2 separate regions of the Homo sapiens genome follow, and region 1 is linked to region 2. The links are contacts of gene promoters, found by promoter capture Hi-C in human tissues and cell types (Jung and others, 2019). All regions are on one chromosome and are shown on one strand. The core of a region is centred on a gene start or on the middle of the fragment in contact, and the rest is flanking DNA. Distances in the headings are between cores, read along the strand shown. Region 1 overlaps SRPK2 (SRSF protein kinase 2). Region 2 holds the start of RINT1 (RAD50 interactor 1).

Evidence for each region. Contacts are between HindIII fragments. The study calls those that stand out against the background at their distance.
Region 1: a contact is called between a fragment that was not itself captured here and the fragment with the promoter of RINT1 in region 2, in 2 of the 25 tissues and cell types used here (lymphoblastoid cells and spleen).

Annotation. Positions count from the first base shown.
Region 1 is chr7:105,212,312-105,218,259 of GRCh38, forward strand. The region is part of intron 2 of SRPK2 (SRSF protein kinase 2); the gene reads right to left. Among named protein-coding and RNA genes, the nearest start is that of SRPK2, 170 kb to the right of the region's middle. The HindIII fragment of the contact is 9,081 bases long and covers 1-5,948 here.
Region 2 is chr7:105,530,677-105,536,774 of GRCh38, forward strand. RINT1 (RAD50 interactor 1) reads left to right here and starts at 1,525. Exons shown (of 15, transcript NM_021930.6): 1 at 1,525-1,681; 2 at 2,148-2,193; 3 at 5,889-6,073. The coding sequence starts at 1,640. It also overlaps the pseudogene LOC100131785. RefSeq lists enhancers at 806-855, 1,143-1,720, 1,306-1,605, 1,696-1,875, 1,721-2,297. The HindIII fragment of the contact is 3,792 bases long and covers 1-3,161 here.

The DNA.
Region 1 (5,948 bases), core at 3,011-5,510, 320 kb before region 2:
CAGTCTAGTGAGGAGGGGAAAGTGCATGTAAACACACAAATGTAAGCAACTGCTCCTGGTATCGTTATGGAAACAGAGATGGTAGTGGGCCAAGTCAGAGACATCTAGAGGTGATCTTACAGACTGGCCAGAATGAGGCTGACTGCAGGAGGTCCATGTCTCAGGGAACCACATCATCAAAAGCACAGAGGCCCAAACTAATCTGGTATGACTGGAGAGAGGAAAGAGGTTAGGCATAGGAATAATCCACAATTCAAAAGAATAAACCACAATGCTAAGAAGCTTGGGCTCTATCCCTGAGGCAAGTAGTAGCCACTGAAATGCAACCATAGAAACAAGGATTAGCTTTCTGCAAAAAACATATGAAATTAGAGTGTAGAACAGGTAGAAAGGATAAAAGCAAGAAGAAAGAAAATTCATGGGAAAACGCTGCAATTGTTAGTCCAGGACAGAGATGATTAAAAACTGGAACTCAGAACTCAGTACAGTTGTTGCTCTGTATCCATGCATTCCGCATCCATGGATTCAAACAACTATGGATCCTAAACATGGGGTGATGGCTACATGTGTACTGAACATGTACAGACTCTTTTTTTGGTCATTATTCCATAAACAATTAGGTATTACAACTATTTACATAGTATATACACCATACTAGGTGATGGAATCTAGACATAACTGAAAGTATATAGGAGCATGTGCACAGGTGACATGCAAATACTAAACCATTTTATATCAAGGACTTGAGCATCCATGGATTTTGGTATCCGAATGGGATCCTGGAACCAATCTCCCACAAATACCTAAGGACAACTCTAATTCATTTGCTAGAAGTGGATGTTTGACTCTTCATTTCTGGTCTGAAATACTGTACCATTCATTTCGACAGAGAATAGAGCAGGTGGATGAAGAAGGGAAGGGGTTTTAGAGAAAAGTAACCGGCTCTAGCTCCTCTGAGTTTCACAGGCAAGTGGGATACCAAGCAGCATAGAATACGGTAGGGATTGCTTGATATATAAAATCTATAGCTGAAAAGTAAAGGTTTGAGCTGCAAATTGAAGCAAAGGTGATTGAAACTGAAGCATACTGAAGCATGACCATGCAGCTGGAAGCCAAAGCCTTTCCAAGCATGTAAGAGTGCTGGGGAGAAACTGGGGAATAAAAGAGCCAAGGGAAGAGCCCAGTTCAAAGCCGAAGAACAAAGTTAAACAAGCCACCAACATTATAATCTATAGTCAAGGACCCCTACTATAATTGCCAATATAAGTTTTAAGTGTCAAATACAGATTTTAGAGCACATACATATACAAAAGTAAGCCTACCTTTTACATTAGGATAAGATATACATATAAGAAGAACAAGCAAACTAAAGACCCATACGCTCTTCTATCTAAAAGCTATGTTTGTAGACAATCTGAAGCCAGCTAGGTGCAGAGTGAATAAAATGTCACAAAAAAGGAACTGTTTACTAAGACTTATATTGGTGAAAGTTGCTATAACAACTAACGATTGCCTCATGCTATTCAGGAAATAATGTAAGATGTACCACTTTACACAAGCCTTCTGCAAACTTCCACAAGCTTTAGATCTAAAGGCATACACAACTACTAATATATAATGGATCAACAAAATTCAAATGCAGTCAACTTTCTACCTTCTAAAGTAATTTAGAACACAGGAAATAAGGGAAATCCTAAACCTGTGTTACACAATATGGTAGCAACAAGACAAATTAATTAAAATGGAATAAAATTAAAAATTCAGTCATCCTCCTTCAAGCACTCAGTAGTCACATATGGCTGGTGGCTATGGCACAGTATGGGCAGTGCAGATATAGAACATTTCTATCACCACAGAAAGTTATATTGGACAGTAATGCTGCAGGCTCTAGATGCTGTAGCACTGCTCTAGGCATTTTTTTAAGGAGCATGAGCCTCTTCCAGCATATCACTATTTTTAATAAGTAGTAAGGTTAGCTGAAAAAGAGTTTAGAACATTTTTTATACAGCTTATTTTAAATACCTTACTGTAAGTTTTAAAATAAGCAGTAAAATGATAAACAGTCAGTATATAGCCATTTTAAATTTCACAGATGATTCCAATATCTGATACCCTGCAGCTCAGTAGTTCTCTTTAGTAGAATTCACCTTAGTGATACACACACTCTGTGGCAATGTCTGCAAACAGCAATATATTGGGATCTAAATGTCTATCAATAGGAAACTTGTTAATAACATTATGATAAAATTATGGCACAACCATACAAAACTCTCAAAAAGGATGAGGCAGAAGAAACAATTCTAGTCACAATAATAAAGTACATAGAAATAAATTAAACAAAAGAAGTTTAAAACGTACTATGAAAACTGCAATATCTTGTTGAAATTAAAGACCTAAATAAACAGAAGACATCCCATATTCATGGATTGGAGACTTAATACTGTTTGCCAATATGGGAAAATGCCCCCTACAGATTCAACAAAATCCCTATCAAAATCCCAGCCAGCTTCTTTGCTGAATTTGACAAGCCATTCCTAAAACTCATATGGAAATGCAAGGTCCCAGAATAGTCAAACAATCATGAAAAAGAAAAACACAAAACTGGGGGATTCGCACTTTCCAATTTCAAAACTTACTACAAAGCTATAGTAATCAAGACAATGTCGTACTGGCATAAGGATGAAGACCAATGGAACAGAATTGAGGGTCCAGAGATAAAGCCTTGCATTTATAGTCAACTGATTTCCAACTGATTGCCAAGACAATTCAATTGGGAAAGAATAGTCTGTTCAACAAATGGGGACGGAACAACCGAATATTCACATGTGAAAGAATAAAGCTAAATTCTTACCTCCCACCATACACAGAAACTAACTCATAATGGATCAAAGTCCTAAATATAAGAGCTAAAATTATAAAACTCCTAGGAAAGAGACACAACAATACTAGCCATCAGAAACATGAAAAAATCAAAACCACAATGAGATACCACTTCACACCTACTAGGATGGCAATAATCAAAAAGACAGATAACGAGACGTCAGTGACGTACAAAACAAGAGAACCCACAAGTATTGATGATGAAAATGGAAAATGGTGCAGCCAGTTTGGACAACAGTCTAGCAGTATCTCAGAAAGTAAAAAAGAGTTATGATGCAGCAATTCCACTCCTGGCATATACTCTGCAGAAATGAAAACATGTCCACACAAAAACGTGTACATGAACACTCACAGCCACACTTTCTTATAGCCTAAAGTAGAAACCACCCAAACATCCACTAACTGATGAATGGATAAATTAAAATGTGGTATATCCAATACAACAGACTATTACTCAACAATAAAAAGAAATGAAGTACTCATAGATGCTACCACATGGATGACCCCTGACAGCATTAAAGTATTATAAATCAAAGCCAGCCACCAAAGACCACATGTATGATTCAATTTGTATAAAATGATTACAATAGACAAATCTATAGAAACAGAAGGTAGATCAGTAACAGCGTAAGGCTGGAGGGGTACAGAAAATAGGGGTGACTACTCAAGTGTATGAAGTTTTTTGGGGGGGTGATAAAATAGTTATAAAATTAAGAGGGCTGGGTGCAGCTGCACAAGCTGATTGTCCCAGCTACTGTGCAGGCTGAGATGGGATAATCACTTGAGCTCAGGAGTTCAAGGCTATAATATGCCACGATCACACCTGTAAATAGCCACTGCACTCCAGCCTGGGCAATAGAGCATGACCCCATCTCTACAAAAAAAAAAAAAAAAAGTTAAATTATGTGGTTGATGGTTGCACAACTCTGAGTATACTGAAAAACCACTGAATGGTATACTTTAAATGGGTAATTACATGGTGTGCAATTAATCTTTTAATAAAGTTGTTATGCAAAAATAATGAAACACTTCTACATGTATTAATATGAAAGATATACACACTGATGAATAAAAAGATGCAGAGCACTGTGTATGCTATGTATCATTTGTTTTACACAGACATCCTAAGCACTGGATGGAGCAACAAGCCAATAATGGTTGTCTCCAGGAAAAGGAACTCAGTGACTGGTGAGATGAAGGAAAGGAGGTAATTTTTTCAAGATTCTTATCACCCCCCAAAAACTCCTTTCAGGAGTTCAAGACCAGTCTGGCCAATATGGTGAAAACTCATCTCTATCAAAAAAATACAAGTATTAGCAGGGCATGGTGGCACGCGCCTGTGGTCCCAACTACTCAGGAGGCTGAAGCAGGAGAATCACTTTAACTCGGGAGGCAGAGGTTGGCAGTGAGCCGAGATCGCACCACTGTACTCCAGCCTGGGCAACAGAATGAGACCCTGTCTCCAAAAAAAAAAAAAAAGAGAGAGAGAGAGAGACACCACCACAACAACAAAATAACTGTTACAGTCATGGTAAAGTTGCAACTAATTATCCTAGGGCTGGAGAGTCAAGATACAAGCCACAGTCCAAATGTACAGCTTTCTGGTAACAAGGCTCTAGGTTAGGCTGAATACCTGTTCCATCACTTACCAATCCATGAGAACTCAAGCCAGTGACCATTTCTCTAGGCTTCTGATGCACATTAGAGTGTTGTAAATATTAAAAGAGATGACACATAAATCCCCTGCCATGGTAACTGTGTACATGGTAGGCATTCAATAAAGGTTAATCCTCACCTCCCCACTCTTCTGGTATGTGGTGACAATAAAACTGTTTATTCAGGGTTCCAGCTGTGACCAATAAATACACCTTGATACATTACGCACGATACTGCTACAGGCCTTTTGGCATATCTGGAGTTCCTCCCATTCCTCTCTGTTCATCTCTGACTATCCTAACTGCAAAGGTCAACATCGATCCCACCACCTAACAACCCTCTGCTTCTAAATCTATGTATTTTATAATCATGATTAGTTAAGAGATTTCTTGAGAAGGTTACAAACAGTTAATTATCACATACTTCTACAAGGCAATATGACAAAGGCAGTATTTGGTGAGAAAAAAAAAGATTTAAAGTTGAACATAAAAAGTGACTTACCTAATTAAGCGGAATAGAAATTCAAAACATACAGTGGTGCTGAGACTAGCACCCATGAAACCAAATACTATAAATTATTCTCTCTTGCATTCACAGAAGACACAGAAGACACTGTGCCATACAGCACAACTGTATCTGACAAATGAAGACTGTCCTGAAATGTATCAAATCCATATACCTGACAGAGCAGGACTAAAGCCCCACCAGTGGAAGCATCCCACCAATGCAGACTGATACTCTCAGAACTGATTTTCTCCTTCCCTTGTGTCATGAATCTTGTGATTCTAACCCACAGTTCCAAATTCTGCAGGATTATCCCAAGTATAGAGAATATTCCTTATTTACTTGTTCAAGAAATACTTACAAAGCTCAAACTATTTTACTGCTAAAATGAGAAAAAAATGAGTCTTTTCTCATGGTACCAGGAATCTAACAGATAGATCAGATAGAAATAAAAATTAGAGCATAAAACAAGGCAGAACGTAGCTTGATAACATTACTTCTTTAATTAACTCAAGGCATATTCAATGTATCCAATTTCCAGTCTCCTGTATAATTCCCAGGGGATACAATAGCAAAAACAAAACATGTGGAAAGGTATACATGTTCTCTCCAGCTGGCTGAGTGCCTAAAAATTCTCAAAGAAAGGAGAGAAAATTGAAGAGGCCTATGACGAAGAAAAAGGTGTCAATAGATCTAGCTAGGAAAGGGCGTTCTAGGCAGGAGGACATGATGGCCTGAGCAGGAGAAGGTATGGCAGCAAGAAAGGGCTCATCCACTTCTGCCGGCACACAAGGTACCCAAAGGAGAATATTGGCAGAAGTGCTAGAGAAAGGTTGAGACCAGATTTTGACACCCTGGGGTGAAGAATTTGAAGTTAATTTGCTAGGAAATAAAATGCTACACAAAGT
Region 2 (6,098 bases), core at 275-2,774:
CTGGGGCTGAGCGCCGGTCCTCTGTGTCTTCCCTACAAACCTTGAATCCTCATTAAAATTTCTTTACCCGTCCCCCGCCCCGCCCCAGAAAAAAAGGCCGGGCGCAGTGGCTCACACCTGTAATCCCAGCACTTTGGTACGCCAAGGCGGGCAGTTCACCCGAGGCCGGGAGTTCGAGACCAGCCTGACTAACATGGAGAAACATCGTCTCTACTAAAAATACAAAATTAGACGGGCGTGGTGGTGCATGCCTGTAATCCCAGCTACTTGGGAGGCTGAGGCAGGCGAATCGCTTGAACCTGGGAGGCGGAGGTTGCTGCGAGCAGAGATAACGCCATTGCACCCCAGCCTGAGCAAAAAAAAAACAAACACACATGTACACTATAAATATATACGATTATGTTCCCATAATAGGTAATTTAAAAAATAGTATCCTTGTTTTTTTTTTTTTTTTTAAATGAGACGGAGTCTTGCTCTGTCGTCCAGGCTAGAGTGCAGTGGTGCGGTCTCTGCTCACTGCACGCTCCACCTCCCGGGTTCACGCCATTCTCCTGCCTCAGCCTCCTGAGTAGCTGGGACTACAGGCGCCCACCACCACGCCTGGCTAATTTTTTGTATTTTTAGTAGAGACGGGGTTTCACCATGTTAGCCAGGATGGTCTCGATCTCCTGACCTCGTAATCTGCCTGCCTCGGCCTCCCAAAGTGCTGGGATTACAGGCGTGAGCCACAGCGCCCAGCCATCCTTGTTTTATGCTTGCAATAGTAATTTGTAGCTCGATTATATATCTCTGTGCACATGTATTTGATTTTTCTTCTCACCGTGTGGTTTCTTTTTCCTCTGAGGGTTGCTTTCCCCCCCCCTTGTTTGTTATGGTCTCTATGGTACTCCTTCCGTGTTAGTTTGTTTAAGAGGCTGTCAAGTCCACAGGTCCTCTACACAACCCTTGCTGCTAGGTAGCTCCCTTTCCTCCTCCCTGGTAAAAGACAGGGTTTTGGGCGAAACACATGTTAGATGCTCTGTTCTCTTCATTCAGCTCCCAGAACGCTTATAACCACCTCTACACCCTCTAGGCAGGAAATCAGAAGCTCATCTCTAGGGACTCTGACCAACGTTAAAAGAAATATCTAAAGATACTGACATTCATTGGAAACCCCCAACTAAATATTCGAACCAAATAACCCTGCACCGAAGCTCCTAGTCAACAAGCCCCCCACACTCTCAGAACATCTGGATATTGCCTAAAATATAAATTTAAATTATTCATATTGAATTTAAGGCGTTGGGAGAGGGATATCTTAAAGTTCCATCATTAAGAGCTTCAATAAAGTGGAGGGGACTTTTACCGCGGTGGAGTGAGCGAATCCCTTCTCTGGAGCTCCATAGGGGAGGGTGCCCGCTTCCTGAGTGGCCGTTCCGACCTCCGGTCAGGAGGGGGAGGAACAGAGCACGGCCGGCGGCTGCACGGGCAGGGCCTCTCTGGGCTGAGAGGAAGAAACCAGTGAGACATCGAGAGGAAGTCGCTGTGGCACTCAGTCCTACGGCCTCCGAGGCTGGGTAGTGAGTGTGTCGCTGGCCTTAGCCAGACTCCACAGGCCACGCTGGCTGCGAATGGAGCCGAGGACTCGCGCGGAGGCGAGATGCTACCAGCCGGCGAGATCGGCGCCTCTCCTGCAGCCCCGGTGAGACGGCCCTGGCGTCCCTGGGAGGGGACATTGGTGGCCCATTGAGGTGGCACAGACCTCCCGGGGGAGATAGTCCCGGTGCGGTGGCCCTGTAAGCTTGTGAAGGTGCTTCCTGCGGCTTAGATTAGAGGCCCTTGTAAGACCTCCTAGAGGAGGCGGTAGTCCCCGTGAAGTGGCTTTGGCGGCCCTGGTGAGATGACAGATTTCTCTAGGGAGGTGGCTCTAGTGAGCAGGCAAGGTAACTCCAGGTCCTGCGGAGGTGACACACACCTCCTGGGAAGGTGGCGGTGGCACCAGGACAGTGGCACTTTGAGGTACCTGATTCGGACGGCCCTGGTCGCTCAGAAAGTGGGAGAGCGTCTGGAACCTCTCTTGCCTCCAGTGGGTGCCCTTTGGGAGCCCCGTATGCTTTCCATCCACGACTTTAATCTTAATGTGCTTGTCACATCTGTTCTTCTTCTAGTGCTGCTCTGAAAGTGGTGACGAAAGGAAGAACCTCGAGGAGAAAAGTAAGCCAGCTCCAAACACCTTAGCTTTTTCTTCCCGCCCAAACTCAGCCTTCCAGGGTCTGCAATATAGAAAGGTTCTTTGCCTATCTTTTAGATGCAGTACCGTTTTCTGCACAATATGCTTATATGGTAATACTGATGACCATGATACACATATTTTTGTCTTTCTAAAATTGTAAAATATGGGATGCTTTGGAGAAGAGCACTTCCCGATCCATACCTAGTACAGGGACTAGAGTGTTTTCGCTGGAAGTCTGCCTATCATACAGTACTCAGAATAATTGGGGCCTGCCTGTCATTTTAATGAAACATCAACTTACTAAGCATCAGGAATTTGGAGGGGCCCATGATCTAGGACAGACGACCACCACCCTAATTGGGTTCAAAGGAGGCAAATGACAGTTGTTTAGTTCACCTTCAGTAAATTGGCAATTTAAAATTGCTCTGGCAAGAGCACAACGGATAACTTGGGTTCTGGATCTTGGACTGGACAGGAAAGGGGGAAAAGGTCAGTACCACCATTTCCTCCCTAGTACGGGAGTATATGTCAGGGTTGTGGACTTTTGCCATTTTACTTTGATGGCAGGTTATTGCAAATCAAGGGCTCTTTAGGGACCTTTGAAGTGACATTTTTTGGGAGAGGAAGGGGAAAAGCATGTGATAGCTCTGCTATTGGGATTTTTGGTTCTTTTGACTGTGGCAAACAGTTGGGAATGTGTAGCAGTAAGAAAAACGGTGCCCACATTAGCACATGGCCCTTAGGAGTAAGATTTGCCCTTAACATTAGCGGCTGATAGAATCTGCCTCAGAAAGAAGGCTCTGAGCAGTCCATAGCACATGACTGTCATAACTGCCACATCTCAGCTCCTTTTTCTTGAAGGATTTCAGAGTGCCTTGTATCTCTCAGTTAAACCCTTCCCTTTCCATTTTCCACCTTTGCCTCATTCAGATGCCTGGAAAGTAGTCTGATGCCTACTGAGCTGTCATTTTAATAAAATAATAGATGTAGACTATCATATCAAGGACTTTGACCTTGTTCCTCTTTCCACAGCTCAAACTGCTTTGCAGTTAGGAGTGCTCTTTACAAAAAATAGAAAAGGAGACACATAAAAACCTCCCAAACCACCGGTGTGTCATTTTGAAGAATGTCATTTCACTAAGAATGTACTATGCCACATTTGAATGGTTACACATCAAGGGTGTAATTTTTTTTTTTTTTGAGACTTAGTCTCACTCTGTCTCTCAGGCTGGAGTGCAGTGGCGCGATCTCGCCTTACTGCAAGCTCCGCCTCTGAGTTCAAGTAATTCCCCTGCCTCGGCCTCCTCAGTAGCTGGGATTACTGGTGCCCGCCAAACACCCGGCTAATTTTTGTATTTTTAGTAGAGGCAGGGTTTCACCATTTTGGTTAGGCTGGTCTTGAACTCCTGACCTCAGGCAATCCACCGTCCTCGGCCTTCCAAAGTGCTGGGATTATAGGCATGAGCCACTGTGCTCAGTGGGTGTAATTTTTTTTAAAAAATGAAGGTAGAATTTCCTCCCTAAGATACAGCAACTTTAGCATTCACAAAACATTTCCTGCCTCCATTTATCTGCAGATACACCACACAAATCACTTGTTTTATTTAAGATTTAAAAAAGGCATTGTGAGTTCTGTACATAATAGTAGATTATTATACGTTAATATTATATATAATTATATAGTATAATTAATATATAATTTGTATTATATAGTCCCATTTATAACCTTGAGATATAGGCTGGGGCAAATGTTACAATTTGTTTTCTAGTTGGAAAATTGAGGCATAGTGTTATGTTAATATTGCCTCTCCTACCCTCTAAATTGTCAATTTAAAATTGCTCTGGGAAGGCACAATGTATAGCTTGGGTTCTGGATCTTGCACTGAACAGGAAAGGGGGAAAAGGTCAGTACCACCTCCTGATTCTCACAGCATGTGAAAAATCTTTTAATTTAATTCATATAAGTTAAGTAGAACAAAGGAAATTTTGTTTGTTGGGGTGTAGGGGTGGAGACAGGAACATACTCTGTATAAAACATTGGTATATATTCTGTTAATCTTTACATAAATAGTTGACCAATATCTGACATTTACATTTTGCACTTAGGCATATCATTATTTAGATATTAATATTAATAAGCCTAATGTGTATTGGACTTATTAAATGTCACAAAACAGGTAGTTTATTTGCCATGGAAAGAATCTCACTTTATACTATTTAGTGGTTGCATTTGTCATTTTGATTTTTTCCTAGTAATTTGTTCTCTCATATTTTCTTTTTTCTGTTTCTGACAAAGATATCTTTGTACAATGACATCGATGACATTTGAAGCTTAAAAACCTTTTTTTTTTTTTTTTTTGAGGCAGAGTCTCACTCTGTTGCCCAGGCTGGAGTGCAGTGGCGTGATCTCGGCTCACTGCAACCTCCGCCTCCCGGGTTCAAGCGATTCTTCTGCCTCAGCCTCCCGAGTAGCTGGGACTATAAGCGTGCACCGCCATGCCCAGCTAATTTTTGTATTTTTAGTAGAGACAGGTTTTCACCATATTGGCCAGGCTGGTCTCGAACTCCTGACCTTGTGATCTGCCTGCCTCAACCTCCCAAAGTGCTGAGATTACAGGCCTGAGCCACCTCGCCCAGCCAAACCTTTTTTACTTTTTTGTTTGTTTGTTTGTTTGTTTTTAAGAGATGAGGTCTTGCTCTGCTGTCCAGGCTGGAATGTAGTAGTGAGATCATGGCTCACTGCAGCCTCCATCTCCCAGGCTGCTCAAGCAATCCTCCCACCTCAGCCCACCTGAGACTACAGGTGTGTTCCACCATTCCTGGCTAATTTTGTTAGATGAAGTCTTGCTTTGTTGCCTAGGCTGGTCTAGAACTTCTGGGCTCAAGTGATCCTCCTGCCTTGGCCTCCCACAGTGCTGGGATTACAGGTGTGAGCCCCTGCGCCCGGTCTTTTTAAAAACACTTTAAAACAAGAGTCTTCTTTTGGTGTTGCCCTAGACCATACTACTGGTTCCTTACACATTTTGAAAAGGTATTATTCCTTGTCTATTGAAACCTGTGGTTACTGGATCACACTTTAGGAATTTTTCCTTTAATACTTCCCTCAGCTCTTAAGCATTTTGCAGTAGTTGTTTGATAGAGTGCTTTAGAGCTATTCTTCTGGGCATTTGTCTGTGTGTGTTGTTCTTTAAATTATTAACTTTGTTTTGTTTTGGTTTTGTTTTTTGATACAGAGTCTCTGTCGCCCAGGCTGGAGTGCAGTGGCGCTTTGTTTTGGTTTTGTTTTTTGATACAGAGTCTGTCTGTGTCGCCCAGGCTGGAGTGCAGTGGTGTGATCTTGGCTCACTGCAACCTCTGCCTCTTGGGTTCAAGGGATTCTCGTGCCTCAGCCTCCCGAATAGCTGGGACTACAGGCCTGTGCCCCCACGCCTGGCTAATTTTTGTATTTTTAGTAGAGACGGGATTTCGCCGTGTTTGCCAGGCTAGTCTTAAACTCCTGGCCTCAGGTGATGCACCTGCCTCAGCCTCCCAAAGTGCTGGGATCACAGGTGTGAGCCACCGTGCCTGGCAAAATTATTAACTTTTGAAGGCAGATAAACTGCTTTTATATGTTTTATATTTTCTTTAACTCCATAGTACTTAGTGGCGTTGAGTAATTGTTATTCTTTTGTTGTAGGTGACATAAATGTTACAGTTCTTATTGGAAGTAAACAAGTCAGTGAAGGTACAGATAATGGTGATCTCCCTTCTTATGTGTCTGCATTCATAGAAAAGGAAGTTGGAAATGACCTTAAATCTTTAAAGAAACTTGATAAACTCATAGAACAGAGGACAGTAAGTAAAATGCAGTTAGAAGAACAGGTAAGTATTGAAACTCACTGAAATA